Regions from separate parts of the Homo sapiens genome. Here region 2 is linked to region 1. Evidence: promoter capture Hi-C in 16 types of primary human blood cells and fetal thymus (Javierre and others, 2016). All regions are on one chromosome and are shown on one strand. The core of a region is centred on a gene start or on the middle of the fragment in contact, and the rest is flanking DNA. Distances in the headings are between cores, read along the strand shown.

Evidence for each region. Contacts are between HindIII fragments. The CHiCAGO score rates a contact against its expected background, and 5 or more counts as called.
Region 2: the fragment with the promoter of PPP4R3A here is called in contact with the fragment with the promoter of BTBD7 in region 1 in 1 of 17 cell types (fetal thymus); the score reaches 6.1 in fetal thymus.

Annotation. Positions count from the first base shown.
Region 1 is chr14:93,331,743-93,334,619 of GRCh38, reverse strand. It overlaps BTBD7 (BTB domain containing 7), which reads left to right and starts at 1,584. Exons shown (of 11, transcript NM_001002860.4): 1 at 1,584-1,800. It also overlaps a transcript of UNC79 not described here. The HindIII fragment of the contact is 5,146 bases long and covers 527-2,877 here.
Region 2 is chr14:91,509,038-91,511,737 of GRCh38, reverse strand. It overlaps PPP4R3A (protein phosphatase 4 regulatory subunit 3A), which reads left to right and starts at 1,428. Exons shown (of 15, transcript NM_001366432.2): 1 at 1,428-2,232. The coding sequence starts at 2,091. RefSeq lists silencers at 1,169-1,368, 1,949-2,048, 2,059-2,118, 2,369-2,418 and enhancers at 1,429-1,708, 1,526-2,176, 2,177-2,700. The HindIII fragment of the contact is 5,922 bases long and covers 1-2,700 here.

The DNA of each region.
Region 1 (2,877 bases), core at 335-2,834:
TGATGGAAAATAACAGTAAATGGCTTGAATTTAGATAAGGTTCACTTACGCCTTTGGGGAAGTATAAAAGTGTGGAACAAGAGGTGGACACTCAGAGGTAATCATTGGCTCCAATTAGATGGACCTATTTCTTTTATATTTTCTCACTTTTCCATGCATTTCTTGTCTATCGCCCTGAGGCTGTATGTTCAACTGAAGTGACCCTTACCAGCTAGAGGGGAATTTCAGGCAAGGGACTGCTACAATCTCTGCTACAATCTCCAAACCTTCAAGGATTGGGTAAGAGGGTGAAAAGGGTGAGATGGGTAAAGAAAATGAAGTAATACAAATTGGAAAGAGCTATCCTTTTCAAGGAAGTAAGGTGATGAAGAATGAGGGTGAGGAAAATACAAATCTGAAGGAAGTCCAGAGGAAAACAACAATGATATTGTCTCCAACTGAATATGAAAAGCATAAAATAATGGAGGGTCAAGAGATGGTTAAAAACACATCACAAAATTCCAAATTGCTCTTATCCTTTGAAGCTTAGAGGTGGTTTCAGAACAACAACAACAAAAAACTGTGTGACACAAAACTTGTTAAACAATGGGTAGAGATTGAAAATGCAAATACAATACTTTCAAATAAATTCCCAGAGTTGCTAATGTCTATCAGAGGAAAAGGAGGTGTAACGGTGCCTCCTCACTGGGTTCAGAATGCCTGGGTTCTGATCTTGGCTTGCCTACTTGTTAGTATTTCTGAGCCTGTCTCCTTGGTTGTAAAACAGCAATAAAAACACCTATCCTGACTACCACAAAGGGTGGCTTTGGCGTTCAAATGAAACCATGGATCTCTCTGGAAAACGACAGTGCCCCATAAATACAGTATTTTTGTTATTGCATCGCTGAAATTATTGCAAACCCCCAAACAAGGGGCATCTAGGGAAGAGCGACTTGGCTCTCCCACGTGGCGACTGTGTGTTTTCATCAATTTTGTCCTTTGTTTACAGGGGTATCTTGTTAAGGAAAACTTTTCAGTGTCTTAAAGATTATTTTTTAACCTACTACACAAGTAGCAAGGTGGTGCCTGTAAAAGTACCATGCAGACAAGTGCTTACGATAGACAAGTGCTCACTGCCAAGAAGCAGCCACCGGAATGCCAGGACTGTCAGCAATGACTTTCCGCGGAAGAGTTGTTCTCGAGAAAGATGCACTCATTGCATGCGACCACCCGAGGGACGCCGGCCGCCGAACGGAAACATGAATTCGTGGAAATGGCCATCTGGTGACGTAGTAGTGACACAGTTCTTATATTCTGATACATTTAATAATGTGTCACAATTCGCTGGACTAAGCAGGATGCTGCCACAAGAGGCAAACTCCCAGCGACCCGACGCCCGGCTCCCAGCCGACGAGCAAAAATAATGCGCGCGCACTCCGCTCCCATGGATCCAGCGAACGCACCGCCCCCCCACGCGGCCCGACTCGCGCGGCGACGTCGGGCCACGTGACCCTGAGCGGGACGACGGCAGGGGAGGGCGGGGGCTCCGGCCGGCTCCGCAGCGCCGCGCAGGCGCCCCAGGGCCACGCCGAACCGAGCCCCTCCTGCTCCGTCTAGGAGTCAAAATGGCGGCGAGGGGAACCTGGAGCAGTCCCGGAGCCTGAGCCACTGACAGGAGAGGAGAGGGCGGCGGCGGCGGCGGTGGGAGGAGGATGGCCGGGGGTGCTGGCGCCGGTGCGGACGGCGGTGCTGGTGGCGGCGGCGGCGGAGGCGACGGCAGCGGTCCCAGCGGCAGCAGCAGCGGCGGGAGGAGCCTCCGGGGTGAGTGTCCCTTGGTGTCTCTGAGGCTGTGGAGCCGAGGCTGTGTCCGGTGTGGCGCGGGGCGTCCGGGAGAGGAAGGGGCTGTTCTTAGGCGTGGGGGCGCCGGGGCTGGGGCCAAGCCGCCGCGGGAGGCGCTGGGGCGCCGGGCGGGGAGGGGCCAGTCGTCCGTCTGGGGCTGAGGCGCGGCGGCGCCGGACTGGCCGGTCTCTGTGCGCTCCGAGGGGCGGGCTGGAGCGCGCCGCCGTCCCTGGGGCAGGGGCGCGAGGTGTGGCGCTCGGGGCGGGGAGAGCGGCCCGAGGGAGTCGCGACGGCAGCCCGGCCGGCTTTGGGCTCCGGGCGCCGAGGGGCGGGACCCGTCGCTCCCAGGACGCTGAGAAACCGCTCCCGAGACGGGGGCGCGTGTTTACCCGGGTGCGGGGTTGCGACCGCCAGGGGTGGGCGTGAGAGTGGCCGGCGGGGTCTGGGAAGGGAGCAGGCCTGAGGACTGCTACTCCCAGGGGAAGTTAGATTGTCCGGGTAAGTTACTATTGCGGGATAAACCTGGAATTGAGCTTTGACAGGTTGGGAGGGAGACAATACCGAGTGTTTGATAAAGAAGAGGAGGCTGTGCTTGTTGGACTACTTGAATGGCAAAAAGTGTGCATATTTCAGTACCTTATTTGCACAGTGTTTGCTAGCTTTACCCCGAGGGTGAGAACTTTCTCACCGTTTTTCAAGAAACTCTGAGGAGTGTTGTTTCTCCTGTGAACTACAATTGCACGTCTTCACATACCAGCACAGATAATAAGTACTCTGGAGTAGGCCTAATTTACAGAAGCAGTCTTGGTTATCTACACCAGAGCACTGTTAACTCTGCGAAAACATCTTACTGTAATGAGAAAGTAGACATTTTTACAGAATTACTTAGCTTTTTCAACTAACAACCTTTTTGGGGGGGGGGAGACGGAGTCTCGCTCTGTCACCCAGGCTGGAGAACAGTGGTGCGATCTCGACTCACTGCAACCTCCGCCTCTCAGGTTCAAGCGATTCTCCTGTCTCAGCCTCCCAAGTAGCTGGGATTACAGGCGCCCGCTGCCA
Region 2 (2,700 bases), core at 179-2,678, 1.8 Mb after region 1:
AAAAAATAATAACAAATTTAATTAATTAACTGGCAGTGGTGCTGCGCACCTGTGGTCCCAGCTACTTGGGAGGCTGAGATGGGAGAATCGCTTCAGCCCAGGAGGTTGAAGCTGCAGTGAGCTGAGACTGAGCCACTGCACTTCAGGATGGGTGACAGAGAGACCCTGTCTCAAAAAAAATTTTTTTTCAATAAAATCTAAACGTAGATATTTCTGATGAAAATTTAGTATCCCAACAGAGACTTGCTGGAAGGACAAAATATATCACATTTTTAAGACATTGTACGTATATCTCATTAGTAATTTGATTATTGAAATAACTTTTGAAAATACCGCACTAAAACGTTAACACTAATTTCACCAGTTTCTTCGTACTTTTTGTGGCTACTGCAAAATTTAAAGTTATGTGTGTGGCTGCATTATATTCCGAGCGGACAAGCCCGACCTGGCAAGGCCTGGCAAATGGTAAAAGCCACCAAAATGGTGGCATATGAGCTGCATGATAGGAACGAGAATGATATTCCTTTGTGAAGATCAACAATACTTGACATCAAGTAGGTCTTCAAAACACAGGACTACCTAATGCTGAGAATTACTCCTCCCGATTACACAGTGTCGCATTTGTTTTTGTGAGCGCCTTAAGTTCCTTTTCCGACAAGAAAGGCTGGCAGACAGTTCTGATAGGGATGAAGGAATGGAGCACTTGGGGCTTGCCTAGGCTGTAAGGTGAAGTTTTAGAATTGTCACTTGGAACTCGGTCCCACGCCCAGAAATCGCAAACAGTCCCAAGTTTCCACACTGGCCACGCCAGTCCGCGACCCACGGCGGCTCCCAAGGCTGCGCCGACCTAGGCGCCCACACCCGCGACCTTCCCCGGAAGCGTTTCCATTTCATTCCCTCAAGTCCGCAAGGCGCCGGGTGGGTCCCGAGCGCCCGACTCAGCCATAAAGGCGGCCCCGGGAAAACGCTCTCGGAAGCGGGTAGGGGCCCAGGCCCACGCTGCCCGGCGTCCGCAGGCCAGGGGCAGGGGCAGAGGCAGGGACGGGGCAGGAACAAGGGAAGGTGGCGGCGGGCGGAGGCGAGGCCGAAGCGCCGGGGCCCGCGGGCAGAGGCCGCAAACGTATCCACGCCCCTCGTGCATCCTGGAGCGGGGCTGATGACGAACACAGGGCGCGACGGACGCACACACCGCCCAGCGCTCGCACGACGGTGCGTGCAAGGAGGCGGGAGGGAGCCTCGGGCTGTCACCGGCGCAATCTGCGTCCCGCCTCCTCCGCTCCCTGCGCTCCCGCCACCTCGGCAACTCCGCGCCCGCCTCCCGCCTCCGTCGGAAGCCTCCGCCGCAGTAAGGCTCCCGGTCTCGCTGCTGTCTCTTTAAATGGTGGGGCTACGAGCCGCCCCTGCAGCTGCTCCCTGGGTGGCCCCGCGCGCCGCTTTTGAGGGGCGAACCAAGATGGCGGCGGTTTTGGCTGTGTGAGGAAGACGGAAGAGACGGCGGCGGAGGGAAACCGACTTCCACTAGTCCGGGTCGCTTGGGCGGCCGGGGGCCCTCAGAGTCTCCCGGGCAGTGGTAGCAGTTGCAGCAGGATCAGGCGCCTGTCGGCTTCTGACGTTTAAAACAGGGGGAGCGGAAGGGAGCCACTGGCCGCGGTGGCAGGGCCAGGTATAAGGAAGGAAAATATGGCGGCGGCGGCGGCGGCCTGAGGAGGCGGCGGCGGCGCGGGAAGCTGCTTCGCGGAGATCATGGCGGAGGCGGGAGCAGGGCAGTGACGGGAGCCCCGAGTTCCTAGCGCTGCGGGGCGGGAGGCTACGAAGCGCTGCGCGGCCCCCTCGGGGCTGCCGGGCGCCGGGCTCGCCAGGCCTGGACAATAGCGCCGGGGAGCCGGAGGCGAGGAAAGGCGGCGGCCCAGAGCTCGGTCCCTGGAGCGGGCCATGCAGGCGGCGGCGCGGCCCCGCGGCGCCCAGCGGCGGCAGTGAGGCCGGGGAGCCCTCCGCTCGCGGGCGCCCTCACGCCTCGCCCCTCGCCTCTCCAGGGCCCCTTTCCTGGGCGTCTACTGGCGGGGCCCCCGCCCCGGTTCCCGGGCGGCACGATGACCGACACCCGGCGGCGGGTGAAGGTGTACACGCTCAACGAGGACCGGCAGTGGGACGACCGGGGCACCGGGCATGTGTCGTCTGGCTACGTGGAGCGGCTGAAGGGCATGTCCCTGCTTGTCAGGGCTGAGAGCGACGGTAAGTGAAGCCCCGCGCGGCGGGACCCTCGCAGCCCCCACGGCCCTGGGCCGCCTCCCTGGTTCTTGCGGGGCATGGCGCTCGCTCCACGAGAACAGAGGGACGGCTGGGGAGGGCGGCCACCTCGGGGGAGGACGGGCCCCAGGTACCCCAGTCTTGCGGGAGCTCCCCGGAGAGCGCTTGAAATGTTTCCTTTCTCTGAGTGCCTGGTGGCATTTTGGGTACGAGGAGAGCCAAGCGTGTTTGAGCTGTGCCGCCCTGGAGTGTGGAGAGGTCGAGGACCTGAGATAGGGAGTCCGGAGTGTGCTGTTCTTTTGCACTAGAGTGACCTTGAGAAAGACACTGATTAATCCGATCTGCTGCCTTAGTTCACCCATCTGTAAAGCAGGCATGAAACTTTGCTTGGAGCTAAGAAAGTTCTTGGACCTTTCACACTTTGAAGAACGTTTTGCTGTGCTTTTTTTGTTT